5 separate regions of the Homo sapiens genome follow, and regions 2, 3, 4 and 5 are each linked to region 1. The links are contacts of gene promoters, found by promoter capture Hi-C in human tissues and cell types (Jung and others, 2019). All regions are on one chromosome and are shown on one strand. Each heading gives the region's core, a stretch centred on a gene start or on the middle of the fragment in contact. The rest is flanking DNA. Distances are from core to core; before and after follow the strand shown.

Region 1 (6,246 bases), core at 1,330-3,829:
AACATCTTACTTTGAAAAGGGCTTAGGACCAAGAAGCTGCTCTTTTCCCCGGGCCTTCTTGCAAGCTTCAGTCGTAACATCTATTCTCAGACGTCTTCTGGCCTAGGACAAACTGGCCACATAGAGCTAGCCAGAAATCTAGCTCCTGACTAAAGATGGAAATTACGGGCCTGACCCGCTCACGGCACTCCTGCGACCTGGCTAAGCCACCCCACGGACAGACGTGCTCCCACCGTCCAGCTCACCAAAAGCCAGAAGCTGAAAACACCCGATCTGGTGTCACCAAGGTTGCTAGTTAGGGGGCAGCCCCCCAAGCAGCTGGGCCGATGGCTTTCTTCCAGGTTAGGCGTGGGAAAACCGAGGGAGCCATAGTGTCCAAATGCTCCTTTCTCCTCAAATCGCCTAACGGGAAAGGACCCGTGAATTTCCAACTTCAGCCACCCTATTTTACAAATAATGAAACAGTCCCAGAGACGGAGAGTATACTTGTTTCTAAACTCTGCTTTTCCTCCCAGCTGAAGGGCAAAGGTAGCCAAAACGAGTATACAACTTCAGGTTCTCCCTGCAGTAAACTGGGGTTTCCTGCTGGGTGTTTGGATGAGTGCAGAGCAGGAACCTCCAAGCAGAAGGACCTCACTCCTGGGTTCATCCACCTCTCCCTCGCAGATCACACCAGGATCCTGTGGACTGATAATTTTTGCTTCCTATTTAATTATTTCCATTCCACCTCCTGCCTCGCCCTGGCCCCACACCACCGTGCTAAGAATAGCAAAGATTTCCTTCCAGCACACACAGGTGATGGGACCCCTGAATCCCCAACTCTTACTTCTGGCCCCAGCTCAGACATCGCCATCCCAGAGAAACCTCATCTTGTCCAACTCACTCGCTCCAGGAAAGTGTGGTGGAGCCTCCATTCGCCAAGCCCTTTAGTGCCTATTCTATTAATTTCTTGGTTACTGTTCGTCTCACCCTCTATACCGCGATGGTGGAGCTCGGATACTGTCTCCTGTCTCCCTGCACCTGGTGCCTCACATGCAGTTGGCGCGCAATAAAACTGAGATGAATTTGGCATTTGGTGAAAACACCCCATGCTTTCTTCCCCATGAGTTTTTCCCTCCAGCCCTCTAATCATCGGGGTTTCTTGCAGAGAAGAGGCCTTGAGGACACGATACTCTGAACTTGACCCAGAGTGTCTAGCCCAGGAAAAAGGGTTTGTAAGGAGAGAGAAGCTCACAGCGAGTAGATGAAAACAGGGAAGGGTAAAAGGAAGGGGGCGGAAGAGGGAGATGCCAGAGAGAAGAGAAGCAAGAAGGCAGTGTCCTGTTCCCCCTCCACCGTGCTTGGTGGCCCGGGTGGGGCGCAGCTGCGGGAAATGCACCCGGAGCTGTGCCCCCTCCCGGCGAACAGCCTGCGCCACCCGCCGCACCGGGAGGTGGCTGGGGGCTGCCGAGCGAGTGGTGAACGCGATGGGTGGAGAGCGCCCGAAACGAGGTGGAAAAGGGGGCGGGGGCGAGGCACGGCGCCTTCTTGCCCCTTCTTCAGCTACAGACGCGGCGGCGGCGGCTGAGTCCCTCAGCCTCGGTCATGTGATAGTCTCGAAGCGCTAGCTGCGGGGGTCTCGGCGTCTCGGGGACCATTACAAAACGCAGCCAGGAGAGCGCGTCGCTGCCACTGCCGTCGCCTCTCCTCCTCAAGACAAGCCCGGGAGAAAGGCGGCAGCTGCGGCGCGGACGGCTGAGCCTCCCCGGCCAGCACTCACCCAGCATTCGCAGACGCCCTCTCCAGCCCGCCGCTCGCTCCCAGAGTCCTGCGCCCCACACTCCTCAGCAGAACCTGCGGGCGCTGCCGCTTCAGAAACCACCAAAGTTTTTTCTCCTCAGCGACAGCCTAGGGCTGCGCGTCTCTTCTAACCCCGGCGACGCTGCGAGCCTCGGAGAAAAGAGAGGCGCCCTAGAAGCCAATCTTCTCTCTCCTTACCCTGATTTTTCACTCCAGGAAAAGGAGAACTCCAGCGCGGTCTGGCTAAGTGCCTGGCCAGGGGCCTGCGTCCAGGGCACTGGAAGTCCTGCTGTCACTGGCCTCCAGGACAGCAGGCGCAAACTCAGATTTAAAGGGCCAGAGTCTCTACTGCCCAGACCTTCCTCCCAGCCATCTTGGTCTGGGTTTCCCTCGGACCTAGAAAAAGCAAAGAGGCCGGGAGGAAACACGGCCCCTTGCCACTCTCCTCTGCAGCCAGCTCCAGCACTCAGTCTTTGGCCACCCGGGGGAAGACGCAGAGAAGGCGGCGGTAAACCTGGTGCACTCCGCCCGCGACTGTGCGCGCCAGTCGGCAACCGTCGGGGCCAGAAGTTGCCAGCTTCCGAGAGCTGAGTAGGCCCGAAAGGCCAAGGTCGGAGACACCAGGCAATTCGGAGAAGGCAGGAGAGAGAAGCAGAGAGGGCCTGGAGGGCGAGAGGGCAAAGTGGCGGGACTGGAGGGGCCGAGTGGGAATTAGTGGGGGCAGCCAGGCCCCAGGAACGGAGTGCGGAGAGATTCTGTGGTCCAGTGCGGGCCGGAGGGCGGTGGAGGAGCCGGGGGCGATGCCGCGGCCGGGGAAGAGCTCGTACAGCGACCAAAAACCGCCCTACTCTTACATCTCGCTGACCGCCATGGCAATCCAGCACTCGGCCGAGAAGATGCTGCCGCTGAGCGACATCTACAAGTTCATCATGGAGCGCTTCCCCTACTACCGCGAGCACACACAGCGCTGGCAGAACAGCCTGCGCCACAACCTCTCCTTCAACGACTGCTTCATCAAGATTCCGCGGAGGCCCGACCAGCCTGGCAAGGGTAGCTTCTGGGCGCTGCACCCCGACTGCGGGGACATGTTCGAGAACGGCAGCTTCCTGCGGCGTCGCAAGCGCTTCAAGGTGCTGCGCGCCGACCATACTCACTTGCACGCGGGAAGCACCAAGAGCGCGCCGGGCGCCGGTCCGGGAGGGCACCTTCACCCCCATCACCACCACCACCCCCACCACCACCATCATCACCACGCTGCCGCACACCACCACCATCACCACCACCCACCCCAGCCGCCGCCGCCGCCGCCCCCGCCGCCGCCGCACATGGTACACTATTTCCATCAGCAACCGCCTACTGCTCCGCAGCCGCCTCCGCACCTCCCGTCACAGCCCCCGCAGCAACCGCCCCAGCAGTCGCAGCCTCAGCAGCCGTCTCACCCCGGCAAGATGCAGGAGGCGGCGGCCGTGGCGGCGGCGGCGGCGGCGGCCGCGGCAGCCGCGGTGGGCAGCGTGGGACGCCTGTCTCAGTTCCCACCCTACGGGCTGGGCTCGGCCGCCGCCGCTGCCGCCGCGGCCGCGGCGTCCACGTCAGGCTTCAAGCACCCCTTTGCCATTGAGAACATTATTGGCCGGGACTACAAGGGCGTGCTGCAGGCTGGAGGGCTGCCCTTGGCGTCCGTCATGCACCACCTGGGCTACCCCGTGCCCGGCCAGCTTGGCAACGTCGTCAGCTCCGTGTGGCCGCACGTTGGCGTCATGGATTCGGTGGCCGCCGCCGCGGCCGCCGCAGCCGCAGCCGGAGTCCCTGTAGGCCCGGAGTATGGGGCCTTCGGGGTCCCGGTCAAGTCCCTGTGCCACTCGGCAAGCCAGAGCCTGCCTGCCATGCCGGTGCCCATCAAGCCCACGCCTGCGCTGCCGCCCGTGTCCGCGCTGCAGCCGGGGCTCACTGTCCCCGCGGCTTCGCAGCAGCCTCCGGCGCCATCCACCGTGTGCTCCGCGGCCGCGGCCTCGCCCGTTGCCTCTCTGCTGGAGCCCACAGCCCCTACCTCGGCCGAAAGCAAGGGCGGCTCCTTGCACTCGGTGCTAGTGCACTCCTAGGGGACCCGGCGGGCGTGGGGAGACCAGCGGGGTGAGAGACGCCGGGCCCGGAACCGCCCAAACCACCCGACGGGGAGAGGGCGCCCTGGTCAGGCCGGGCAGAGCTGGCGAGTCTCAGCCTTTGCTGGAACGGAAGGTATTTAAATAGACGAACAACCCCGAAAAGTGGATTCTCCAGTGGTCTGAATAAATATAACCTTCCTGGTGTCTGTGTTTATACTATGTTGTACAATCAGATTAATGAAAGCCAATTTTCAGGTAAGAGTTTCTATTGTAATTAATATAAATCCATAAGTTATGGGGGGAGGGAACGAAGGAGGTTAGGAAAGCCTCATTCGCTGGTAAATTGGAAGTCGATTCTGACCCTTATTCCTGGGAGCAGAAGCTGGCAGAGCTAAACCTCCCGCGAAGAATCCAACAGAGAGTGACGCTGAAACGGATCTCAGCCACCACGTTTCTCTCTGCTGGTCGCATCCTCGGCGGTCGCCTCTCGTGAACATTCAAGACAAAACTGCCGTCCACTAAGGAAATTTCGTTTTATTTAAGAAGGAAAAGAGGAAGCGTTTGATACCGTTATTTTCCTAGTCAGCTAAATGGGCAAGGAAACGGTGTCATGAATAAAGTCGCTTTGGAGGGGGAAGGGGAGGAGAGGAGGCAGCGGGAACCCCACGAAATATCTTTGGGAAACAGCTAAGGTTCTTGGCTCTGACCTGGGGGTCAAGAAGGATAGGAGGAACCTCTAGAGCAATTAGTTTGTACAAAAGAGAATGGCAGCAGCTTAAAGGGTAAAGCCCCAAATTCCAAAAGTTGGGAAACACAACCAAAGGGAGACAATACAGGCGACTTTCCACCTGCAACTTGTTTGGGTATCAGTCGGATGAGAGCCCAAGAATAATGTGAATTCCCACGATCCTTTCTATTTGGAATTTTAAGGAAACAAATCACTTGTATAGCGGGATTTTGTTTCCCTAACTTACGAATGCAGGAAAAACTCGGCACATCACTCGACAATATTGCTCTTAACGCTTGCAGAAACGTTCCATGGCTGTTCCCTTCCAGTCTCCTCGGACGGAAGCAAGGGGACCACCCAGTCACCTTTGCACGCTGCGGCTGTTTTTGTATTCCGTGTGCTGTTTGAGCGCTTATGTCTTTCAGGCGAATTAATTCTTCAGTTTCAATTCGTGAATGGGAAAGAAACTTGCCTTGTCGCTCTTGCCCTTCCCCCCTCTTGAGCCCCAGGGAATAGCACTTTACTCGCGACACAATTTTGGGAATGGAGGGGGGCAGAGTGGGGAGAAATCCGCTTTGCCCTTTGGCTCTAAGTCACCTCCGCCTCTTGTCCGCGCCGCGTTCGGGTTGTGACTTTGTTTATGTCTGCTGGTGTTGTACGCGGTGTTCTCTATTAAAGCTTCTCTCTGGATATCTATGCTAGCCCCGTGTGAAGGTGTTTCAGTTCTCCAAGGATGAGGCCGTGGTTTGAGTGCCCACAGTTAGGTTAGGGTACTTTGCAAATCCTTCCCCTCCCTCTTATTTCTTAACTTCAGAACTTCAAAGGGGTGAGTACACGGGCGAGCCACCAGTAAGCACCGATTTCCTTCATTGCTCCTTTCAGCCTTTGGCACAATCATCTCTTTTACTATCTATTATTATTAGTAGTAGTATTTTAGAGACAAGATCCCACTATGTTTACCAGGCTGGTCTCGAACTTCCGATCTCAAACAATCGTCCCATCTGGGCCTCCCAAAGTGCTAGGATTACAGGCGTGAGCCATCACGCCCGGCCACCACCTATTTTTAATATGTCCGTTTCCTAATTGAACTTAAGTCCACCACCATGGTAGAGACTGAATTAGCAAAAACCCGCAACAGTGCGTTTTTCCTGTCACCACTATCCGTCACCTCTCTCCCATTTTGAGGTCCTCGACTACCATCTAAGGCCAGGAACTCGGTGTCAGCGGGGTGGGTGCCCGACGGCGCCCCCTTAAGTCTGCGGTCCTGGACGGAGGCAGCCGGGTTGGCGCCGGGACACTGCCGCTGCCGCATCAACTAGGCAAGCGCGCCCAGCCACCGCCGCCTAGAAGACCTGTTGCGCGCCGACACCGCGCCTCGCGGGAGGCCACAGCCTGGGGCCTGGGACCGCAGAGTTCTTGGTGGGTGAAAGCCGGCGGCCAAGCTGCTCGAGCTGCGGGAAGGGAACCCTTGGGCAGCGGCTGCTGCAGAGCTGCTCTGGGAGTGGGCCAGGAGGCCCCGGCAGGGTGCGGCGCCTCCGCTGGGGCCTGGGAAGCCGCGTCCCGGCCTCCGCCCTCCACCCTTTAGCACAGGTCTACTTTGAACCAGCTTCCGTGTGCCCAGCCAGGCCAACGAAAGTC
Region 2 (6,246 bases), core at 2,518-5,017, 430 kb after region 1:
TGAATTCACCTACTTGCTAAAAGCTACTTGTCACCTCCAAATCAAACTGACGGCACTTTCACAGTCATTCTCCAACGTGTACAGAGCAGCAAAAAAAATCTAAGTCACCTGATGCAAATGTTTCCATCTGAGATCGAACAAGCTCTGGTGCTGTTAAAATTATTCTTCCTATGGTCTATCTAGTGGCCCGTGTAATTTTCATCCTTTTTTTGGTGGCGATTTTGCTAAGATAGCACTTGATATGGTTTGGCTGTGTCCTCACCCTAATCACATCTTGAACTGTAGCTCCCTTAATCCCCATGTGTCGTGGGAGGGAACTGATGGGAAGTAATTGAATCATGGGGGTGGGTTTTTCCCGTGCTGTTCTCTTGATAGTGAATAAGGCTCACAAGATCTGACGGTTTTATAAAGGGCATTTCCCCTGCACACACTGTCTTGCCTGCTGCCATGTAAGACATGCCTTTGCTCCTTCTTCCCCTTCCACCATGATTGTGAGGCCTCCCCAGCCACATGGAACTGTGAGTCCATTAAACCTCTCTCCTCTATAAATTACCCAGTCTTGGGTTTGTCCTTATAGCAGCATGAGAACAGACTAATACGGCATCTGAGTATAGTGTGACCATAAGAATGTGACGGCCCTATGGGGAACATACGTGTGTCAGACTAGCTTCCTTCAAGAGGACTCAAGATATAATCTCAGCTCATCCCCTAGTAGGGAGCTTTCGATGAATTTATCTGACCCTAAGCCCTCAGTTTCCTCATTGGTAAAATGAGGAGGGGAGGTGGGGGTGGTCTTTTCAACATTAGCAGTCTCTAGCTAAAGAACGTATTTTTTAATTATAAAGCTTCATAAATATTTGTTGTTGTGGACATTCTTTTTTCAAAGTATAAAGGCAAACACAGCCACTGTAGTCACTCTTTTTAGAGTGCTCTAAAGCAATCATTGTAACTATACTTAGCTGAGGATGTAAAGGAATGCCACTATTGATAAAGAGGTCTGTTCCTGGGATCCAGGGTGAGGCTATTCTAGGATGGCCCTGAAAATCTTGAGGATGACCAATGTGTAGGTCCGTCTCTCTTCTGTGAATCACACATCCTCAAAATAACCAGGAAGACAGCCTCAAAGGCAGTTATCCCCAAAAGATAATATTGCCCCAAACTTTTTTCTCCCTTGTCACACACATGTTCATTAGTCACCCTGGGACTCTGGACCACAGGTTTTTCCAGCTTGGGTGGACAAGCCAACGTGCAGCAAAGCTGCTCAGCCACTCTCCCAAGCAAGAACCCGAGATTCTTTGTTGTAATCAGGTGCATAAGGAAACCTGTTGGGGTCAGTGCAAAGTGTCTCTCTCCTCAAGCATCTCAAAGTTACACAGACATTTAACCAAGTCTCCTATTTCCTGTCAAAAAATCCCAACCGAGCAACCAGACGAGCACAGGTAGGTGGTGAGTGACAGATATTTGTGCAAAAATTAGATGTGGTCTCGTGAAGTCCCCACAGCCCAGGAACATTTCACTCAATCTAGTGATGTCCATGCTCACTATGTGCTGGTCTCACACCGCATCCCAGGGGAAGCGGATATAACTCCACAGAGGCTGACTTGAGAGACACGATCCAGTAAGAGGCTGGACTGCTTGATCCAGAACCCCGTAGAAATACACTGGTCCTGTCAGCAGGTCTGAGATAGACGTGTAGCCAAGTGACAAGCTCCAGTACAGCCTTAGGATTCACCAAAGTCACCCCTACTCATGTGACGTGTGAGGCAGACAGATTTGCCTTTAAGTAGCAACAAAGAATATCTGCACTCCAGATCTTGGTGGAGAATTTAGTCTCTCTGCCGCCTAACTCTTACCAAATTTTGAAACAAATGGTATCTATGGATGATTTTCCTGAAGTACATTCAGTCCAGCGATGCCTTTATAAGCATTTTCCAGAGTGGTACATTAAACAAAACACTACTCTACAAAACGTGGTACATATCCTTAAAAAAAAGTTCCTTGATCAAATTAGTTTAGGACAAAGTCTGAAAAAGTTACCCAAGTTTTCTAGTTAACTGCAGAACTGCACACAAGTGTGTGTGTGTGTGTGTGTGTATGTGCATGTGTATGTGTGTGTGTGGTGTGTATGTGTATGTGTGTGTATGTATATGTGTGCGGTGTGTGTGTTTGTGTTTGTGTGTGTGTCTGTGTGGTACATGTACCCCTTAGGGCAGGGATCTGCTGTGGTCTGAAAGTTTGTGTCTCTCCAAAATCCATACGTTGAACTCTCATCCCCAACGTGGAGGTATTAAGGAGTGGGGCTTCTGAGTGGGGACTAGGTCATGAAGGTGGAGTCCTCATGAATGACTTTGTGCCCTTTTAAAAGAGGTCTGAGCTGGGCACATTGGTTCATGCCTGTAAGCCCAAGGACACAGGAGGCTGAGGCAGGAGGACTGCTTGACGCCAGGAGTTCAAGACCAGCCTGGACAACATAGCGACATTCCCTCATCCCTAAAAACAAATAAACAAACAAGTAACCAGCCGGGTGGTGTGTGTACCTGCAGTCCCAGCTACTTGAGAGGCTGAGGCAGGAGGATGGCGTCAGCCCAAGAGTTCGAGGTTACAGTGAGCCATGATTGCACCACTGCACTCTAGCCTGGGTGACAGAGCAAGACCCTGTTCCTGAAAAAATAAAAAATAAAAATAAAAAGAGGCCTGAGGGAGCTTGTGTGTCCCTTCCGCCATGCGAAGACACCAAGAAGATGCCATCTCTGAGGAGCAGACTCTCACCAGACAGCACATCTGCTAGTGCCTTCATCTTAGACTTCTGCAGACTTCCCAATCCCCAGAACTGTGAGCAGTAAACGCTACTCTTTATAAATTACCCAGCCTAAGGTATTCTGTTATAGCAGCCTGAATAGACTAAGACAGATATTAGTCTCTTTTCTTCATTAATGTACTCCCACGTGCCTAGAATGGTGGTTCGCACATCAATATTCTTTGAATGAATAAATGAATCTTACCTGAAAATCTTTACATTCAATAAATACTGACAAAATACAATGAAGTCAAGGAGCAATATGCATTAACAAAATGCAACAGTTCATGAAAATGTGTAACTATGCGCACCAAACTCTTAACCATTCAGTCACTTAGAAAGATAATCCACATGTGTATGGCTTAAAAACAACAGCAAGAACAGCCCTGAAGCTACAACAGGATTCCTTCAACAAATGCAGCATTTAGTGAGAATTTATGGAACTGAGCAAACCTGAGCAATCATAAGCCTGCAGCCACCACAACAAATACAGCAACATGGAGTGGGGAGGCCCGAACACAGCACAGAGCTTTTGATATGCTAGTTTTATTATGAGTTTCCAAAGAGCAGCTTTACGATACACTACTTGCCAAATACATATAGTTCAATGGCAACTGGGGATCCATTTTCTCACAGGATAAAACTGCTCAGACTCCAGCCGATTCCATAGCTTGTAAAAGTCAGAAGTCTTGCTGCAGTTTCTGCTAATGCTCAGAAGTGAAAGCTTCATGATTCAGTATCTCTTCTCATTTGCACAGGCACAAAGCTCAGGCTCCTCGCCCGCTCCGTGCAGCATCCGATCTCTTCAAAATCTTGGATTTCACAAGGAAGAACCGCATTGCCCAGCCTTCCACTACCTGCGTAGTTCCACCCCACACCCCCGGCTCCCCTCTTTCTACTTCTCCTGAAGCTTTGGATTTGGTGGTTCCAAAGTCTTCACCGTTTCTTACAAAAGTGACTTCCCCTTTCCTCTAACACTAAGACATAAAGGAGGAAGTCTCAGATTCTACCCCTAAACTTGTCAGTCTGATCTACTTCTGTGAACCCCCTTTGTTTTTGGGTGGCCCATTATCCATTCTCTCTCCTTCGGGTTACAACTGAGCTTGGGAGGATAACCTTTCGCTCGCTGTGTGCATCTTGGCACACCTGTTAATTCAGGTCTCCTGCTCTCCTGTGGCTAAGTGCCAGGCCACTCAGACTTTGCTGAGCTGTTGAACCTTGAGGGGAGTTATCTGATAATAGTGGGGACGGGGAAAAGGAACAGATGAAATTCTTTTATTTTGGTGGCAACTGGCCATCAGGATTTTTTTTTTTTTTTTTTTTGGAAGTGAGACCCCTGGAGTTTTCAGGTTCCTGTCCATTCTGAGACTGTTTCTTTAGCCTGCTCCTTGATTCCATGACCTCACTATAGCCTTTCCATAAACTCTCTTCTGCAAATGTGAGTCAGTTTATTTCTGTTGCTTACAACCCAGAAACCTGACTCTCTGCCCCACCAGTAGAGCAAAGGCCTTTCTAATGCGAACAGTCAGGGTCAACGAAAAAAGTTGTTTTGCTTTTAATGTGACACATATATTAGCATCTCCCATGAATGTTTAGTTTGGGAAATGCCCTAGATGTTCTGGATTTTATTTCTGAATCTATTCAAAGGCTGTGGATTCCAGCCATATGGTTTGCATTAGTTTTCTATTGCTGTGTAACAAATTGCCACAAACTCAGCAGCTTGAAACAATACCTTTTGATGATCTCAAAGTTTCTGTAGGTCGGAAGTCCAGGCAATGGTATAACTGGGTTCTCTGTGCAAGGTCTCACAAGGCTGAAATCAAGATGTTTGCTGGCTGTGCTCTCATCCAAGCTCATTCAGGCTGATGGCAGGATCCAGGTCCTCAGGACTGTAGGACTGAGGTCCCTGTTGTCTCATCAGCTGTCACCTGAAGGTCTCTCTCAGCTCCTAGAGGCTGCCCTCAGTTCCTGGCCATGTGGCTCTCTCACAGCATGGCAGTATCCTTCTTCAAGGCTAGCAGAGACTCTCCTTGAACTCTAGATCTTCTTTAATGGGCTGATTAGGTCAGAACACCCAGGATTATCTCCTTTTGATTACTTAAAGCCACTGATTAGGGACTTCATTACATCGGGACTTCACTTTGTATATCCCATAATCTAATCGTGGGAGTGACAGCCAACACTGTCCTGCCCACACCCAAAGGGGAAGAGATTATGCAGGACGTGTACACCAGGGGGCGTGAATCTCAGAATTCTGCCCAGCACATGGTCTTGTTCCCAGTTCTCTGGGGAGCAAAACTACCTCTTACTTTTCCCTCGGCTTATATTTTTAAAGTGTCTACGATACCTCATATAGGGTTATTGTTAGGGTTACTGTCTCTGTTCACATGATGCCCCACATAAGGAATATATATTCTTGGAGTTAAGAACCAAGACCCCTTATGCTTCGCTGAGAGACTGGTAGGTTTTGCCTTGTGGTCCATAGGAATCGCATGAGTGAACCTGATTCTCTTTTCACTTTAGCTAGTGGGAAGCTCAGAAACAAATATGTGGCTAAGTCTAAGTAACTGAGTAGAAGTTTATGAGTACTTGTATCTTACAATACCTGTGTTTCATTCCCCCACAGGCCCCTGCCCAGCCTCACTCTTTCATTTTAATTCAAAAACTTTTCTGGCACTGATTACTATTTTAAGGTAGACAGTCTTATAAGTAGCCTCTAATGTGTTGTATAAGGAAATAGGGTATACATAAAAATGAAATAAAATAATAATAATAGCTAATCTAAACTGAGCCATTATTGTGACCACCTAGTATAAGCATGATCATATATGATCTTTACAACCACTCCAGGAAATAAGATACTTTAATACCCTTATTTAATAGATAAGGAAACAGATGAGGCCTAGAGAAGATAAGAAGTAGTACCAGAACAACCATTCAATTCCAAGCGTGCCTGACCAACAGAGCCTAGGCTGTTAACCATCACACCCTATTGATTTAAATACATTTACATTTTAAAGGAAGGAAAGAGTGGGGACAGTTGGCTGCCTGTGCAACTCTCCAGACTAGAAAGAGACCATTACACATGTTGTAAAGCCCAGAGGAATAGTTTTCTGCACATCTTGCCTGGCAAGTGCTCTTCTACAATGTAAAACAAACTTCTCTGAAGTACAGAACTTGGTAATAGCTAAACCCCGCTTGAAAGTAGAAAACGAAGTTCCAGAAATAGAAGAAGGGCTTGGAAACAAGTAAGTAAGCATTTTCCTTGGTAAGTTATAAACAGGTGTAAGAGAATATCTGACACCAAGACCCAAAAGCACGATGTGACTGTTTCCATATGGAAGACTTGCTAATATTCACCGTGGAACTGAGGAGTAACGTATGTTCTTTCTAAAACAGAGTATGAAAAACTAGAGTTGATAAGACACATTCTGAAGGTACATCGCTGA
Region 3 (6,246 bases), core at 2,220-4,719, 410 kb after region 1:
AACTTCCACAAAAGCTGTTGCTATTGCATTTATCTCTTGAGTGAGGATTCATATTTTTAAAGCTAGATGTTGCTATTGTAGAATTGCTGCATATCAGAATAATTTCAGTCTTTTTCAGCAATTGGAATTGTTCCCACAGAATGGGGACACATGGTTCCATAACATATGTAGCCAACCGAGGTGCATTTTATAGACTGATTTGAGACAGATATTTCATACCTTACGTCCCCAAATGGTGTATGTGTGTGTGCACACACATGTGTGCACACATGCACAAAACCATCTTGGCCTTTAGTGTGGAGCACTCTTAATTCCCAGAGGATTCTCCTTCTGCTTGACCCAGCCAGCTACTGAGGGAACTGCAGCATGACACGATGATGCGCAGACTTGCCTTGAAAGGAGGAATCTTAGGAAAGTTTCCGAGTTACTATTAAGGCCACAGCATTTTTCTGTTTAGGAGCAGAACCATCAGTCAACCATGAGCTCTAAGAAACACAACATAACCCAGTGCTAATAGCAGAATGGTATATTCTTAGCCTCCTCAGAAAGGCACAGCATACATAATTCAAACAGCAAATCTGTGGTGGCCATCAGAACTTTGGCAGGGTTACGTAACATTTGTCAAACAATGTGGACTTCTAGCCATTTCATACATTTTTAAGATCTGGTCATATACATTGGGGGTAAAAATGTACACACACACACACGTGCACACACACACATTTTTCACCAATAAAACATATATGCTATCTAGAGCCCATTTACTCTATGTCAGCTTTGGCTTCTTGGTGATCAAACTGTGGCAAAGCTAAATTAGATATACTTATATATCCATTAATTTGGCTTAGAAAGTTAACACACAAAAAGAACCAAGTGTTTAAAAAAAATCTTTGGTGGCATGTTAAAGGAGTCACCCTTCAGCATGAGGTGAGAAACACAATTAAAAATGTCTCTAAATTACAAGGTTTAATAAAAAGCTTCAAACCCATTAACATTCTTATTTTTAAAAAAGTCACCCAAATTAACTCTAGAGGTTTGAAGGCATGATCTATAAACTAACAGGCTCCTTGCTTACATAATTTTAATCGCTATTTTTAAACATATTTAAAACTAAATCAAAGTGGCTTTTAAAAATTCTAGAAAACACCAAATTCAAAAATTACACAAAATCTTATAGCCAAAAGTCAAGAAAATAATTATAAACACAATTTGGGATGTAAGGACTTTTAAAGTATGTTGGTAAACTCAAATATCTTCCAAGTTCCATCACCCATCTCTGTCCCCACGATCTACATGACATCCTTAGTTCCTGGCATGGGGCTGGCTCTGGTGATGTCAGAAGCACTTGCAAATAAAACAAGGAGTTTGCAAATCACATCTTCTGTTATAGGGGAGGAGTGGGCAGCAGCTTTTAGACAAGGTTGAATTCCCTTAGGTTTAGCTGTAGAATTGTGTCTTTGACAGCAGCAAACACAAAGCGAATATTGTCTGTATCTGTAGCACATGTGAAGTGAGAGTAGATGACTTTCTCTTTGTCAGGATTCTGATCTTGGTAAAGCTTCAGGATAAAGTCTCTGGCAGCTCTGACATCCTGTTTCGGTCCTAGTCACAAGTGCAATTACAGGAATAAAGACACAGACTTAACACCATGTCCTCCCAAGAACCTTTTTTTTGAGACAGAGTCTCGCTCTGTAGCCCAGGCTGGAGTGCAGTGGCACGGTCTCAGCTCACTGCAACCTCTGCTTCTGGGGTTCAAGCAATTCTCCTGCCTCAGCCTCCCAAGTAGCTGGGATTACAGATGCGTACCACCACACACAGCTAATTTTTGTATTTTTAGTAGAAACGGGGTTTTACCATGTTGGCCAGACTGGTCTCGAACTCCTGACCTTAGGTGATCCACCTGCCTTGGCCTCCCAAAGTGCTGGGATTACAGGCGTGAGCCACCGTGCCTGGCCCCAAGAACCATTTTTTAATGTATTCTTGTTCTTATTTGAGATCCTGCTTTGATCCATCTTTATTTCCAGGGAACGGTTTACCTGGAGCATTATTTTTATGGTATCTCATCATGAACCCATAAAATAGTCATATTTTAAAATGTCCTCTGGTATCTAAAAATTGTACTTTACAGTGATTTGTTTAAACATAGTGACCCAATTTGTCTGATTTGGACCACTATTGAAGAGAAGTAATCCTGGCTAACACATATGGACAGACAGCTCTGGTCTAGGAGAGATAAAAGGAAGAATGTGGGAACTAACATCAGGCTGATTTTAAAGCTCGAGGGTGCTACACTACACAGCCAGTATGGTTAGTAAAAGGGGAAAGAAGAGTGCTAAAACATGAATCCACTAAATATCAGTGTCAAACTTAAGGTTTGAGACCTCCTGTACCAGAAACAATTAGCAACAGGGCATGAGACTCTCCTACCTTGGACAGGTTATGTGAGTCCACCATGTGTCTGGGAAAAGGGATGCCACACTCTAACATACACATAAGAAGCACCAGGTGCTCTGACTGGCATGAGGAATGCACAGATAAATCAAGCAGAGTCTCTACCCTCATGGAGCCGACTGGGAAGAGAGCTGAGTGAGCAGAGGATATGACATAGCATGATGTGGCCAAGAGAGCAAGCAGGGGTTAGGCTGCTGAGGGAGCAGAAAGGAGGAGGCACCCTTCCTGCAGACCAGATGGGCAGGGGAAGCCAGAAAGGCTCCCAGAGAAGGGGAGGCCTTTGCTGGGTTTTGGAGAACAACATGGAGGCAGCGAAAGGAGTTGGTAAGGGTATTCCAAGCACTGAGGGAAGCACATGTGGAGGTGCTGTGGTGAAAACACAACAATGGTGCAACTAGAGCTTCTGTTTGAAGGTGGGAATAGGGGGAGAGGCTATTGCAGGCAGACCAGGGAGGCCCCTTTGAGCCGTGATAACTCTAGACTGATGCCCGGGAGGTGGACGAGATCAGCACAGAAAACACTGTCCACAAGATAGACACTTACCTGTGTATTCTGGGAAATAGCTAATTAGATGAGAGTACATGATTTTCTCTTCCAAAAGATCCTTCTTGTTCAAGAATAAAATCACAGACGAATTCAGAAACCAGGGGTAGGTGATGATGGTTTTAAATAAGGCTTTGCTCTCTTCCATGCGATTCTAAGTGAAAAACAAGGGACTTGGGATGAAGTAGAAAGGAAATATTTTGGAAACAACATGGCGCATTGCCAGTCCATCCATCTCTTCCCTTGCCCCGCCGCAGTCTCTGGGCCACTGTCTGCTGAAGCTGGTGAGCATGTGGGGCCCCAGGCTACAGGCCTCCTGCTTCTGTTTGCCCCTCCCCAAGCCTCTTACTAACCATCCCCTTCTGGGTCCCCTCTCCTGTAGCATCCCAGCTCTTCTCCAGCCCAAAACTCACATGGAACGAAGTAAGAAAGGCTTTGGTGCAGCTTGGAAAAGGAAGGTTCCTACCCACGTTTCACAAGTTTCCTGTGTCATGTGATCGTTGGGATTACTAAGTGGGGAAGTGCCAGCTTCAGACCTGACACGGCCACCTCAGTTGGTTATGGGCTTCCAGACTGGGCCTCAGCAGTCAAGTGACAAGGCTCTTCCAGCAAGGCCACTGGCCCTAGGAATGCTAGAAGTTGGCAGAGACAGGACGCACTGCTACTGGGAACCCACCCTGTGCCACACTTTACAAGCAGAGCAGTGGCCCGTTTGATGGGTGACCATACTGTTGTTCAGAACTTTTTTTTTTTTCCTTTCTGAGATGGAGTCTCGCTGTGTCGCCCAGGCTGGAGTACAGTGGCGCGATCTCGGCTCACTACAACCTCCAGCTCCTGCATTCAAGTGATTCTCCTGCCTCAGCCTCCCGAGTGGCTGGGACCACAGGTGCATACCACCACACCCGGCTAATTTTTTGTATTTTTAATAGAGACGGGGTTTCACCGTGTTAGCCAGGATGGTCTCAATCTCCTGACCTCGCGATCCGCCCGCCTCGGCCTCCCAAAGTGCTGGGATTACAGGCATGAGCCACCGCGCCTGGCCTTGTTTAGAACATTCAAATAACTTTCCCAAGCCCATGTAATAGTGGGACCTGGGGAAGGTTGTGTAGAAAGACAGTGATAATTTCTAAATGTTAGACATTGGCAAGAAGATATTAAATGCTCCTAATTTACTGAGAACAGACAGGGCACAAACAAATCTTATCTGTGACAATAATTGTTCTAGATAGCATTCTGCTCTTTCTCAAGTATTTCTAAGAGGAAAGAAACAAGAACTTCCCTGTAGGGAGGGAAGGGATCACAGTGAAAAACATCCAAGCTCAGCACACACACTCAAGAGGGACACGCCATAAATCACTCTTTCCCCACAACTTCCAGACACCCAGGTTTGTTCTGCCACTCAGTACGCATTGGGGGAATTACGATCTGGAATGTATTAAAGCTTTAAAATTATTATGATCTGAATGATAATGATCTCCAAGGAAATAAAATATATGAAAACTTCCCAGACAGTATACAGAGTGGATATAATACATATCTACAACCAGGAGGGGAAAGTCTGGAGTGGCAACCACTTAATTTTTCTCCAAATATTTTGTGATTTTTAGAAGAGAAAATGTTTAATTTCTAAGCACTTTGGGCTGAGATACTGGTCCCTTGTGCACCTTACTAATCGTTTGAGTTTCCTGAGGAACGTCACAAATAATTCCTGAAACAAATTTGCAGCTATTTTTTTTATATTGATAACTGAATGTCTTGCCTTTAAAAAAAAAAAAAAAATCTCCAACTGAGAGGGCTGGGCGACAGCCAGCATTTCCGTTCTTTGCACAATGACACAATTAAATGGGTTAATCCTCCACTAATTAGGTAATATAAGCTATGCTCCTCAGAGAAAAGTGTGCTCTCAAGAAATACAAGATACAATTTGTTCAGTTATTGCCTAATCCTGGACTGAGTCCTTTATTGATTTACTTTCACGCCTTGGAAACAAAAGACATTTTTTAAAAGGTCAAGAGGTCTTAATGCAAGTTCAGGGGAAAAGATGACGAGGAGGACATGAGTGTTCCACCGATACTGTCCCCAACCTGACAGAGAAGTGGCTGTGAGGGTCCTCTTCACTCTCAGGGCAGCTCCCACTGATGGAATTGGAAGCAGCCAGTGCTATGGCCACTCTGAGGGGACAACGCATGCCTGACCAGGCTGGATCCATCCCAGCTGCCCTGAGGGAGTCCCTCCCAGGAGACGTGAAGGCAGATGCAATCCCAGACAGCCCCAGAACAGCTCCAAGCATCTAGCACCACTGCCCACCCCAGTTCCACTAGGGATCTAATTTGGGAGCACCATGGGCCTATGGAGGTTAGGAAGCCTGTGCCCAGGTAAAGTGTTTTAGAGATAGTGCTGCTCGGCATTGGTTGTGCAGTAGAATCCCTGGTGGGCTCTCAAAAGAAGCCTCAACCTAAACCCAGTAAATATGAATTTTTAGTGTTCAGTCCAAGAGATGGCATTTTTTCTTTTTTTTTTTCTTTTTTTTTTTTTGAGATGGAGTCTCGCTCTGTTGCCCAGGCTGGAGTGCAGTGGTGCGATCTCGGCTCACTGCAAGCTCCGCCTCCCGGGTTCACGCCATTCTCCTGCCTCAGCCTCCTGAATAGCTGGGACTACAGGCGCCCACCACCACGCCCGGCTAATTTTTTGTATTTTTTAGTAGAGACGGGGTTTCACCACGTTAGCCAGGATGGTCTCGATCTCCTGACCTCGTGATCCACCTGCCTCGGCCTCCCAAAGTGCTGGGATTACAGGCGTGAGCCACCGTGCCCAGCCAAGAGATGGCATTTTTAAAAACCTCGCCAAGAGATTCCACTGTGCCACCAAGGATGAGAACCTAGGCTTTTGAATAGGTTCCGACCTTAGCAGCACAGTGGATTCACCTGGGGTGCTTTTTAAAAATCCCCCCACTCAGGCCCCATTCACCACCAATTCATTCAGAATCTCTGGGGTTGGACTCAGGCACCAGGTTTTTGTTAAGTCCCTCAGCAAACTCCAGTGTGCATTCAAGTTTAGAACCCAGGTTCCAGGCCCGTGATTCTCAGCCTTTCATATGTATTTGAATTACCTGGGTTCTTGTTAAAATGCAGATGCTGATGTAGTTGGTCGGGGTTGATTCAGTAAGACTGCATTTCTAACAAGCCATGCAGGTGATGCCTGTGCTGCTGGTCCACAGGTCACACTTTGAGTAGCAAGACTGTTTGACCTAAT
Region 4 (6,246 bases), core at 3,747-6,246, 320 kb before region 1:
GTCTGCCTGATGTTTCTCAGGGTTCCCATTATCCAACACTGAGAGAAAGAGTCAACTGATTTTTAAAATCTATTTCTCATTTTCAACATTCACGTGGATAAAAGACCCAATGTACTAAACTCCCCAACCATAAGTCATAGACAGAAAAAGTCTGACTTCACGAAAAACAAAAAGATCTCACGGTGTCACTCATAAGCAGAAAGATAAATTCTTTTCTACAATGTTATCAGACATGAAAAAAGGTGAAAATTACTAATTTAAAAAGAAAAGATGCAGACAGATCACCATAGAACCAAATACACTGTGTTCGAAGGTCATCTTTATTTCAGGGAATACTGAATACCTCACCTCACAGAGCTAGGAAACAAGATACAGCTCCACAAGTATGAGGGTCAGGTGATGTCTCAATACTGTTTCAAAAGTACATGACACAACGATTTCCTCTCTTCTCCTTCCCCACCCCACCCCCACCCCCTCCCTCCATCCCCCATGGCTGCCTGTATCTCCAAAAGATTCATCAGTTGAATATCATCCCTTTTCTCAATCCTCTTGGAAATGATTTTTTAAAATTCCCTTGCACATTATTTCCTTGCTCATATCTATGGAAAGCCAATATATCTATATATCGATTATCACATTTTCATATAATTCAGATAGTGACTTTTAAAATTTTAATGACTTAATCCTTGTTTAACATATAGATCAGATTTTTTACTATAACCTGTGATAGTTAATGTTTATGTTTCGACTTGGCTAGGCTATGGTGCCCAGTTATTTGGTCAGACACCAGTTTAGATGTTGTTGTAAAAGTATTTTTTTAGATGTGATTAACATTGAAATAGGCAGACTTTGAGTAAAGCAAATTACCTTCCATAATGTGAGGGGGCCTTCATCCAATCAGATAAAGGTCTTAATAGCAAAGTCTGAAGTTTCCTGAAGAAGAAGGAATTCTCCTGAAGACTGCAGCCCAGAAACCTGCCTGCATTTCCAGCCTGCAGCCCTGCAGAACTCACATTCACGACTGCAATGCTGACTCTTCCTTGAGTTTCCAGGCTGCCAGCTTGCCCTATAGACTTCAGACTTGCCAGCCCCCATAATCGCATGAGCCAATTCCTTAAAATTCTCTCAGTAGCTAGCTAGATAGCAAGATGGAGATCTAAATACAGATATCTCCTATTTGTTCTGTTTTTCTGAAAAACCCTAACATGTAACCAAATTACCCCTTTCTTCACACATCATTCTTCCAATCATGCTTTCTTTAAAATAAACAGCTAAATGTTTCTTCCTTTTAAGAAAGGTCTGTGTGCTACAGATTACCCTGCAAATGTTCTTTGTGACTATGTAGGAAAGATCAGGCACATCCATCACTGTCTTGGGGAACTGGTATTTGATCCCCTGCTGGACAGGTCTATAGCTGGAGGATGACCAAGGTGTTGGCAAAGGATTCTGGAAAGATTGATCCTAGGGAACATGAATGCAGTGCTGCAAATCTCAAGGGAGAGAGGTTATCTTTCAGCCCTAGTAACAAGTTTTGTTAACAAGAGTCAGTAGGTGGCATATGAGGAGAAAAGGCATTTTTCTCATGCTTTCTCAGATTTTCAAAATGTGGCTTGCAGCTCTCAAAACAGTTTGGCAGCTAAGAGAGGCTGAGGCTGAAGGAGGGGAGGGAAGAAGCTGATTTGCAGCTGGTGAGTCATATTGCACATACTATGAACCTATTTCTATTTAAGAAGAGGCTTTCTTAATTTTCTTTTTTGCAGAATGGTCTTGATTTTGGATCTTCTGTTCTATGATCAGATTATGTGTCAGAAGATGTTTCCAGGTTTTTGTTTGGGAAACCACAGCTATCTCATTGTTTTGCTTCTGTGATTACCTTCCTGTCCCCATGGCTTCCTTCATAGTATTCATCCCAGTTCACTCAGCTAGCTTCTTACCCTCTTCTTTGCCTTTCCAAATTATGACCTTTCCTTTAGTGACTTTCATAAGCCCCTTGAGGAGTGCCTTCATAAGCCCCTTCTGTCATTAAAACATTTTTTAAAAATTTATTTTATAACTTTGTTGGTATAAAGACAAATCCACTTGAAAGTATAATAATTTTTTCTTCTGACTATAAAAGAAAATATTCTCATGGGCTCCTTAAAGTATCATGGGCCCTGGGCACTCTGTCTCCTGTGTCTGACAGAGAATAAGCCATTCCTGCTGCCTGCTCCATAAAGGCGCCCGAAACAGATATCTCTCCTCTTATTTCCTCACTTGTATAATTCTTGTCTCGCAGGGTTGCCCTATGTAAAGTGAAATAGCGCAGAGTGCTTAACACCTGGTCCAACAGCAAATAGCCTGTAGTTAGTACCCATTTTATACTTAAACTGACATTGGGCATTGACTAGCTTGACTTAAATATTACACTGCTATCTACCTTTTTACTTATGTCTAACTCTTTAGTTAAACTGTAAACTCCTAGACGGCTGACAGTATGTTTTAAACCAGTGGTTCTCAAGCTTTGGAGGGCATCAGGAGTTGCTGAAGCTCAGCTGGCTGGGCCTCACCCCCAGAGTTCCTGATTCCGGAGGTCTGAGTCGGAGCCGATAATTTGCATTTCTAACAAGTACTCAGGTGATACTGATGCTGCTGTTCTTAGGACCCCACTTAGAGAACCACAGTTTTAGACAACTCTTTATTCTCCCAAAATCTAGCACAGAGGGAGACTTACACATTCACAGTAAATTATTTATGCAAAAGATAATACACATGCCGGAGGGAAAATCTGCCCCATCCCCATTGTGAGAAAAGTTTCAGTACTACAAAAGCTGAGCAGAAAGGGATGAGCAAAGAAATCTTGTTGAAAGAAAAGGTGCTGGTGGCACAATTGAACACTGACTGTCATCTGTTGGATCTCGGGGCATGTGCAAAATGCACACAAGAAGCCAAACAATAGCTCAGCCAACTCATGGCTGCCTGAGTTCTGAGCTCAATCTATAACAATGCCAGCAGGGCTGCTGGGATCCATCTGCTACTCTCTTTCTGATAACGGATCTGGGGTCTCTCTGGAAGAAAATAGCTTGACAGGAAGAAAGAAGGATTAGGCCAGCTGACAATGTCTGGATTTATGAAGCTGCCCTGGAATATGGTAGAGCTTTTAACCCCTTCTGCACTTGGCTAATCCTCAACATACCCCAGCTATTCTTTCCATTGTCCTTGTTCCTTTCATCAAGAAATGTAATTTGTGAATGCCAAAGCTCCCCTGGACACATTCTGTTTCCACACAAATTAAGTTCCCAGAATTTAATACTGCAGGAAGCCTTGAGATCTTTCAGCCCAACTCACTAATTTTACGCATGAGAAAACCTAAGCCTGGGATTAATCCTAAAATGTATAATCAGTCATGGTAGAGGCAGGCTGGAATCCAGATTCCTTGACTCACTGTGGGTATGTGATGTGTATAGTCCTTTACACTCCCAAGCTGAGTAGCAAAAATATATCTTTTCTCGCTTTTTTTTTTTTTTGAGACGGAGTCTGGCTCTGTCACTCAGGCTGGAGTGCAGTCACACGATCTCGGCTCACTGCAACCTCCACCTCCCAGGTTCAAGCAATTCTCCTGTCTCAGCCTCCCAAGTAGCTGGGATTACAGGTGCTGCCACCACCCCAGCTAAGTTTTGAATTTTTAGTAGAGACGGGGTTTCACCATGTTAGCCAGGGTGGTTTCAAACTCCTGACCTCAAGTGATCCACTCACCTTGGGCTCCCAAGGTGTTGGGATTACAGGTATGAACCACCGCACCTGGCCGATATCTTTTCTCTATTACATTTTAAGGAGAAAACATGACTTTCCCCGTTACTTAAGTTACTTTTCACAATTTGTTCTTTTGTCCCTGGAAGCAGGTGGGCTTCATAAACACAAATGAAGAGAAATGAAGAATGCTAAACAGTTTCAGCAGAGACTGGAAGCTTGAGGGCAGTGATGACATCCTATTCCCTGATATATGCCCATTGGCTACCCAGAACCACGGCACAGAGCAAGCTCTCAAAAACCACATGGTGAATGAATGAATGAATGAATCACTGATTTAATGACAGTTTGCCAATTTCTCTGCCAATTAGGGAATGAATGTGTTACACTGAGATTTGGAGACTGCTGTGGAGCCTGTCTCTTATCTAACTATAAGTTAGGTGCTTACATAAAACCAGAAAATGCCTTGTATTTGAAAATATGAAAATGCCTCTGTATGCTAAGCGGTGTGTCAACTGAGAAAGTACAGGCTTTGGAGGTGGCAAGCTTCGAATCCCAGGTGTTCACTCTGGTTACTTAATTCTAGGCAAATTATAGAAAATTTCTGAGCCTTGAATCCCCCTACTCAACCCTACTCCTTCCATTCCCCCCACTGGCATGTTAGGATTAAATGAGATAATGTATGCAAACTGCCTTGCACATAGTAGGTGCTGATTAAATGTTAGTGTCACTTCCTTGTATTCCCAACTGCCTGTTGAAGAGTCATGTAGGTATTCAAGTAGGTGGGGTGGCAGTTGGGGGGTAGGTATAAGACTGAATGAAAATTGAAGGGGCTTTTTGGCTGAAAATGTACATAAATTATCATTATGGTTATAGTTATCTAGTAGCTGCTTTTACTGATGGTGTGCCTTGCATTCAATATAAGCAAAGCTGCTATCATCCAGGTATTCCTCATATTCCATAACCTCTAACCATTTCCCAGGTTTCTAAATAAATTGCTTTTCAGGAAAAAAAATAAATCTAGCTTTTTGCTTACCCATTTGGTCTTGATATCCTGGTTCCGAGCTCAAGGAACTCTGTCTCCTCCTCCATTTCCGTGTCAGGGATCATGTTTTTCTGAACAGGCTGTGGTGAAAGCATTTCCCATTCATTGTCATGGGTGACAGCCTGCAACGTAACTGCATCCGGGCCAGCCCTGCCTCGGCTCTTACTCTTCTGTGATTGGCTGACTGGACCAGAGGCTTCCTCTAGTGCCAAAGATTCTAGAGGCTTCATTTCTTCCAGAATCTGCAGCTGGGGACCCTCACCCAAGCCGAGTTCAGAGAACGGCTCCACAGTCTTGCCAGACCACCCAGGCCCTGAGTCCCTGGCATCCAGTGATGGATCACCAACCTCACTATGGCCCAAGAACATCCAACTCTGGTCTTGTGCAGGGCTTTCAAAAGATGATCTCGTATCGCTTTTAGAAGACATTTTCTCTGCAGAGAGACCTTTTCTTTCATTTAAGGAGGCTGGCTGACATGTGTCTGGGAAGCTTGCTAACTGAGTTCCCTGCAGCCCTGTTTCTTTGGAACCTACATACAATTCTAATTCAGCTATGCTTTCTCTTTCTTCACAGGTCTCTGGCTTTGAGTGTGAATTTTCTTCACGGTTTACAAGTATGTAATCCATGTGTAGTGCATGACGATCTTCATTCTTCTCTGTACATCTTTCTTCCTTGTATTCTGATTTTATCTGCTCAGGCTCTTTGGTAGGAATTGTTTTTTCTTCTTCCAATTCTGATATTTCCTTGCTGGCACCTAGAAGTGGAAGTTGAAAGTGAGAAGAGGAGAAAAAGGTTTAATTAACACATTGTGTGATTTGTGATCCTTGCAAATGATCATCTAAAAGAGGTAATTTAATATTTTTTATATATTTTATTTATTTATTCATTCATTCATTTGAGACAGAGTCCCGCTCTGTCACCCAGGATAGAGTGCAATGGTGTGATCTCGGCTCACTGCAACCTCCACCTCCTGGTTTCAAGCTATTCTTCTGCCTCAGCCTCCCGAGTAGCTGGGACTACAGGCACCTGCCCCCACGCCCAGCTAATTTTTGTATTTTTAGTAGACATGGGGTTTCACCATGCTGCCCAGGCTGGTCTCGAACACCTGACATCAGGTGATCCCCCCTCCTTGGCCTCCCAAAGTGCTGAGATTACAGGCGTGAGCCACCGCGCCCAGCTAGAAAATATTTTTATTTTGTAGAGTCATTCGATTTTCTCGTGCACTATCAGGAATAGGTATTACATATGCACTAGATTTTACTGCTGTTATAATACAGGACTTAGTGAGGCATGCCTTGAAAATGTAGTTAGTTTTCTCTCTACCCTCATTGGTAGGAAGAGTGTGTCTTACAAATATGCACTAGTTTAATCAACGCAGCAGTTTCTTGGAAGTGGAAGAATGGAATGTTTCTTACCATTTGGTGGTCCTATGTCTCCACCTGCTGGTAAATCAGAATTATCTGTTTCTACTTCCC
Region 5 (6,246 bases), core at 2,135-4,634, 290 kb before region 1:
GTAAACACCAATCTTGGAGCACACATGCAGAGCCAGCAGTCTGTGTGTACCATTTGTTGCAGTCTAAGCTAATTACCAGAAACCCCCTCCTGAAAACAGATACACTCTGGGGTTTGTGGTTTTACTTTTGTTTGGAGATGGCTGTGTTTGAGAAGCTGGAGGAATCCCTCTTCAGGTAAGGATGCTGCTGTCATGACTGTCTCAGTCACAAGTCACAGAAACTTAACTGTAACTGATTTAAGTAGAGAAAGAAGTCAGCAGGATCTGGGGAGTGTTCCCACAGAAGCCAAGAAGAGCCTGAGCACGCGCTGGGAGAAGGGCAGGGGTTGCCAGGGATATGCAGGTCGTCCTGCCTCTCCATCCTCTTCTGGCTGCATTCTGCTGTCCTGCAGCCAACTGGCATCCTCTACACGGTGGGAACCACAGGTGGCTGCAGCATCTCTGTGTAGACCTTGCCAAATGAGTCACGACTCCCTTTTGGTCATGAGTTTGAAAACCCTGGAGAAAGAACTCTGGTTGTTCCCACTTGGGTTCGGTGCCTATCTCTGGGCAAAACAATTGAGGTAGATTGGAAAGACCACAAATCACAGACACCACACCAGTTATAACAAAGTTGGTGGGTAAGAGTCACTTCCTAGAAGAGGGATGCTGAGCAGATAAGCCCATAGGTGGGCACTTTAGACATCAAGCACGAAGGTGTAACACGCATACACAGGCACACGCACATACATTCTAACACACACATGCACACTCATCAGATACTTTCCCAAAGCCCCATTTTAGTTCCAACCAACCAAGCCTAGTTGTAGGGAGAATCATGATGCTTGGAAAGATAAGTTTAGTGAGACAATTTAGTTAACTTTTATTTTCATGTTAATTTTTATTTTACGCTCCAATTAAGGAGGGTATTAAAAAGAGGAGTGATAAATCTATAAAAGCGTTAAGCTTAGAGAATGAAAATTATGCTGAATCAATTGAAAATACATTGTACTATTTAAACAATCCAGGAAAAAGCAGTCAAGCCTCCTTAATCTTTATTCTTTCAGGTCAACATGAGGGTGTTTCTCTTTTTGGCCCTTGAAGTCTTCAGAAGCTCAAATCTCCACTATAACTGTCAAACTTCCATTGCTATTAGTACCATCTATGAGGCATTAAAATGCTTTAAATACAAATTTGAAATGTTCTACAGGCCCAGCCTTCCAGGCAGAGAATACCTGGGCTCACTCTGGTGGAACAAGAGTAGTAATTTAATTGTCATTATTTTATACAAGAGTGATTTATAGAAGGGCTCTAAGCAAGCCAAATACAGAAAAAAACCTAAATTCGTAACAGATAAAAAGTAATAACTTTAGACCAGGGTTTCTCAACCTTGGCACTACTGACATTTGGGGCTGGACAGTTCTTTGCTGTGGGGGCTGTCTTGTACCTTATAGGGTGTTTATAGCATATCTGGCCTTGACCCACTAGATGCCAGTAGCAAGCTCCCTGCCCTAGTTATGACAACTAAATATGTCCCCTGTGGGGCAAAATCACCCCAGTTAAGAACCACTGCTTTAGAGAAAAACAGCAGGAGACTCTTAGGAGCTTACAAAATAATTCAAGTCACACTCAACTGTTTCAGAAATCTTACTACATAAAGCAAGACACATGGTTAATTCTGCCTGGTTTAACAGGCAGGAGAACTAGAAAAGTAAATCAGGGATGGGGAGCATCTACATGAATACTTTTTATTAATTGGCCAAATATTTCCTTTTTCGAAGCCAGTAAAAATAACATCTTTCCATCAATTGTCTTTTAGTTTAGATTGCTGTGCTTATAAATGAAACCAAGCTTCGATTCTCTTAAACAAAGAAAACAGCAGGATGGTTTAAAAGAGCCAAGATTTTATAAAACATCTACTTCCTATTCCAGGAAAATGAAGTTTACCCAGGTATTTTCCAGAGTTGTTTCTTTCTTCTTCTTCTTCTTTTTTTTTTTTTTTGTCAAGCAAAGTTGTACTATTATTCCAACTTAGTTATGGGTAAACAGGGCTTTTTTTTTTTTTTTTTTTTTTGAAACAGGGTCTCACTTTGTCACCCAGGCTGGAGTGCAGTGGGGTGATTTCGGTTCACTGTAACCTCTGCCCCCAGGTTCAAGTGATCCTTCCACCTCAGCCTCCCCGAGTAACTGGGACTACAGGTGCAAGCCACCATGCTTGGCTAATTTTTGTATTTTTTGGTAGAGATGGGGTTTCACCATGTTGTCCAGGCTGGTCTTGAACTCCTGACCTCAGGTGATCTGCCTGCCTCAGCCTACCAAGGTACTGGGATTACAGGTGTGAGCCCCCCGACGCCTGGCCTTAAACAGGGCATTTTTAAATGCCAAATCTTATATTTAGGATTCCTGAAAAATCTATCTTTTATCTCCATAATGGTAACCTAAAATATGGCAGATATTTGAGGGTATAGCTATGTTATGCCACACTCATGGGGCATTACAACTGTTCAATGAATGGCTAGCATTCTTGCCTGATAACAGGCTACCAGCATCTTTGCCCAATAACTTAGGCTATGTGGAAAAACTCATCAAAACCCATTAAAACCCATTTCTGGGCCTGAATTATCTAAACCTGTATGTTCACATCTCAATCCATTCTCAACCCCGGCTATACCTAAGAATAGCCCAGGGAGCTGTTAAAAAAAAAAATACAAGTACTCACAGCCCACCCCATGAGATTTAAATTTAATTGGCTTAAGGGTGAGGCCTGGGTATCAGTATATTTTTCAAGGAGGTACATTGATTAATGTGCAGGTAGGGTGGAGAACAGGAGTCTGTATTGACATAAAGAAATATTTTCAATTTGTATTGTCTACACATAGTTTCTACATCAGTGATTCTAGTTTCTATTCTCTAGTCATTGACTGAACTTTGATAGTCACTGGGGAAAAATATAAATTCCAAAAACTTGGTTCATATTTGCGTATGTGTGTTTTTAAATAAGCAGCCCTAACTTCTCCAAATGAGCAAATAATAAAATGTAGTGCTTAAAAGAATAGGCTTTGGAATACAGCAGCCCAGGACTCACATCCTAGCTCCACAGCCTGTTATCTCTGCACCTTTAGGCAAGTTACTTATTAGGCTAAGCTTCAGTTCTTTCCTCTGGAAAATGAGTATAATAACCTACTTATAAAATGAGAAAATGTATAAAACACTTAGCTTAGGATCTCTCACACAATCAGCCCTCAATACATAGATGGTAGTCAGCAGCAGCCAAGACCCAACAGCTACAACTCCATTAACAGTAAGTTTATTTGTCAATTAGGGCATTAGAATAATCCATTTTCAGGGACAGTTTGGAGATTGTCTTTCTACCTTATGTATGTTAGAAATAGTCCTTTTTGCCCTAAGATTCTTTTGTTGCAGCCATTGTTTAAATTACGGAGCTACAGAATTTCTGATTAAAAGAACTCTCAGGTTTGGAGAAAGTGTGGGACAAATGAACCAGAGAGTGTAATGGAGCAATGGGTTCTCCAGGTGCTGTCTTTAGGATGTGATCTAAGTCAATGATCCTCAAACTTTAGCTGAACTCATGAATCACCTACAGGGCTTCTAAAAATACGGACACCTGGGCCCCACTTCTAGCGTTTCTGATTCAGTAGGTCTGGGGCTGTTAGTTCTAGCGAGCTCTCAGGTGATGCTGATGTGGCTGGTCTGGGAACCACAATTTGAGAACCACATTTTTATCTAAAGCAAGACATTTCATTTTTCTGAGCCTCAGGTTCCTATCTGTCAAAAACAAACAACAACAACAGCAACAAAAAAAGCCAGAGTCCATTAAGGTATAAAATTCTTGCTTCTACTTTGCTTGGCTCTTTAGAAATGAAAGTATACAGTAGCATTCTTCTACTGTATATTTTTTATATTAGCTGATATGATTAGGACAAGGAGTTGGTTAATTAAAAATTTGGCTAAAGAGGTAAACTGTTAAAAAGAAATGTTTTATTATAAAATAAAATAAAACGATCTTATTTGAATTCAAACATAAAATAATGCATCCATTTATAATCTTTTCATGTAGAACCAAGGTCTTTTAAAGTATTTTTTTCTTTTAAAATATTTAAAAGCATGGGTTTATAGGAGCTTTCCAACTTCTTTGTTGCAGCCATACATATAAAATTTAATTTTCCATTTCTAATTTCAATTTCCTTAATGTGGAATAAAAACTTAGACATATGTAAAAAAATCTGAACACAGACTCCTACATTTTTACAAGTCTGCCAATTTTTTATAGCTGTATTATCCTAATTTGAGACCATATTTTTCTTGAGAGCATGTTTCATTTCATTTTCTTGTCTTTCCAAAGCATTAATCTTAGAAATAACTACCTTAGTCCTATTTCATCAGTTTATTCAAGATTGTGTAATTATATTAACATGTACAATTGATTTAAATAGGTTTGGAGCAAACACAGCTGATACTTGGCAAACATTAAATGCAGCTAATCCATATGTACACACCTGTTCAGTCTAGAGAGTTTTTGGCTGGCTGTCAGCATTCAGCTAAGGTTATCGATGAGTATACGTTACAGGGTAGAGTGGACAATGTCATTTAGTTCAGTACATTAGTTAAGGGAAGATCAATAAAGAGAGCTTCTACTGTCAGAGGTAACTGTGCAGCCCTACCTCCTCACCTGTAGAAAAAAGATACATATAATCTTGTGATTTTGAGTCACAACATATATTAACCCACGCATCTGTAACTTAAACACAAATCACCTGGGATTCTTGCTAAACCACAGATTCTGACTCAGGGGGCCTGAGATTCTGCATTTCTACATGCTCCCAGGTGATGGCTGTGCTGCTGGTCTGTGCACCACATGTTGAGTAGTAAGATATTAACCAATGCTACCAGAAGCCATAAAAAAAGGAGAGGTTCTACCCCTGAAATAAAAGATGAAAGAGGGCCGGGTACGGTGGCTCACGCCTGTAATCCTGGCATTTTGGGAGGCCAAGGCGGGCAGATCACGAGGTCAGGAGTTCAAGACCAGCCTGACCAATATGGTGAAACCCCATCTCTATTAAAAGTACAAAAATTAGCCGAGTGTGGTGGTGGCACACGCCTGTAATCCCAGCTATTCGGGAGGCTGAGGCAGGAGAATCGCTTGAACTTGGGAGGCAGATGTTGCAGTGAGCTGTGATCGCACCACTGCACTCCAGCCTGGCGACAGAGCTAGACTCCGTCTCAAAAAAATAAAGAGACGAAAGAGATGAGGCAATCTGAAAGGAAACACCAAACATTCTTAACATCTCTCTTTTGCAAAATGCGGAACCCAGAGAGTGTGGAATTTATCTAAGTAGAATGCAGGATCTCAATATGATAGAGGAAATGATTTCACACTGAGAATATGGCAACAGAAGAGTGGCTTGCTGGTCAACCTCTCTCAGAAGATAGCTTAATGAGCAATGGGGCTTTCATATTTCATATTTCTTTATGCTATGAAAAATGAAAAAGATATATATACTTGCTGCTGTGGAAATATTCCAAGACATATTATTATATGGGGGAAAATCAAGTTTAACACACACATACACACACACACACTATAAACATATATTCCCTCTCTCTATCTATCTATCTATCTATCTATCTATCTATATATATATATATTTTTTTTTTTTTTTTGAGACAGGGTATTGCTCTGTCACCCAGGCTGGAGTGCAGTGGTAAGATGTCAGCTCACTGCAGTCTTGACCTCCCAGGCTCCAGCGATCCTTCTGCCTCAGCCTCCTGAGTAGCTGGACTGCAGGCACACACCACTATACCCAGCTAATTTTGTTTTTTTATTTTTTTGTATAGACAGGGTCTCATTATGTTGCCCAGGCTGGTCTTGAACTCCTGGACTCAAGTGATCCCCCCATCTTGGCCTACCAAAGTGCTGGGATTGCAGACCACCATGCCCGGCAGGAACAATAAATATATTTTTTAAACTTACAAAACAAAATTGTATCTTTCTAGTACGTACCAAAAAGAGCAAGGAGAAAATTCCAGAAAAATGTACACCTCATTGGTACACTTATTATTTAGAAAAAGGACTGGTATTTGAATGAGGGTATAAAAAGGCCTTGAGCTTTGTCTGCATTATTTAGATTCCTTTACAGTGTGAACAAACTCATGTATTATTTATGTAATAAACTAAACAAAAGAAAGAGTAGCTTGCAATTACATTTTGTTAGTGATCAAAGCAAACCTCCTTTGCTTATAGTAAAG

The links. Contacts are between HindIII fragments. The study calls those that stand out against the background at their distance.
Region 2: a fragment that was not itself captured here is called in contact with the fragment with the promoter of FOXB2 in region 1 in 1 of the 25 tissues and cell types used here (H1 embryonic stem cells).
Region 3: a fragment that was not itself captured here is called in contact with the fragment with the promoter of FOXB2 in region 1 in 1 of the 25 tissues and cell types used here (IMR-90 fibroblasts).
Region 4: a fragment that was not itself captured here is called in contact with the fragment with the promoter of FOXB2 in region 1 in 2 of the 25 tissues and cell types used here (dorsolateral prefrontal cortex and spleen).
Region 5: a contact is called between a fragment that was not itself captured here and the fragment with the promoter of FOXB2 in region 1, in 8 of the 25 tissues and cell types used here (aorta, dorsolateral prefrontal cortex, liver and 5 more).

The regions. Positions count from the first base shown.
Region 1 is chr9:77,017,076-77,023,321 of GRCh38, forward strand. FOXB2 (forkhead box B2) reads left to right here and starts at 2,580. Exons shown (of 1, transcript NM_001013735.1): 1 at 2,580-3,878. The coding sequence starts at 2,580. The coding sequence ends at 3,878. The HindIII fragment of the contact is 6,747 bases long and covers 1-6,092 here.
Region 2 is chr9:77,450,478-77,456,723 of GRCh38, forward strand. The region is part of intron 2 of GNA14 (G protein subunit alpha 14); the gene reads right to left. It overlaps GNA14-AS1 (GNA14 antisense RNA 1), which reads left to right. Exons shown (of 5, transcript NR_121184.1): 2 at 5,818-6,045. Among named protein-coding and RNA genes, the nearest start is that of GNA14-AS1, 6.0 kb to the left of the region's middle. RefSeq lists an enhancer at 4,917-5,036. The HindIII fragment of the contact is 3,169 bases long and covers 2,184-5,352 here.
Region 3 is chr9:77,422,568-77,428,813 of GRCh38, forward strand. GNA14 (G protein subunit alpha 14) reads right to left here. Exons shown (of 7, transcript NM_004297.4): 6 at 2,995-3,148; 7 at 512-1,602. The coding sequence ends at 1,412. Among named protein-coding and RNA genes, the nearest start is that of GNA14-AS1, 22 kb to the right of the region's middle. The HindIII fragment of the contact is 6,809 bases long and covers 66-6,246 here.
Region 4 is chr9:76,698,575-76,704,820 of GRCh38, forward strand. It overlaps PRUNE2 (prune homolog 2 with BCH domain), which reads right to left. Exons shown (of 19, transcript NM_015225.3): 8 at 6,187-6,246; 9 at 4,763-5,525. Among named protein-coding and RNA genes, the nearest start is that of PCA3, 63 kb to the right of the region's middle. The HindIII fragment of the contact is 3,550 bases long and covers 3,222-6,246 here.
Region 5 is chr9:76,725,680-76,731,925 of GRCh38, forward strand. All of the region lies in intron 6 of PRUNE2 (prune homolog 2 with BCH domain), which reads right to left. Among named protein-coding and RNA genes, the nearest start is that of PCA3, 36 kb to the right of the region's middle. The HindIII fragment of the contact is 6,012 bases long and covers 379-6,246 here.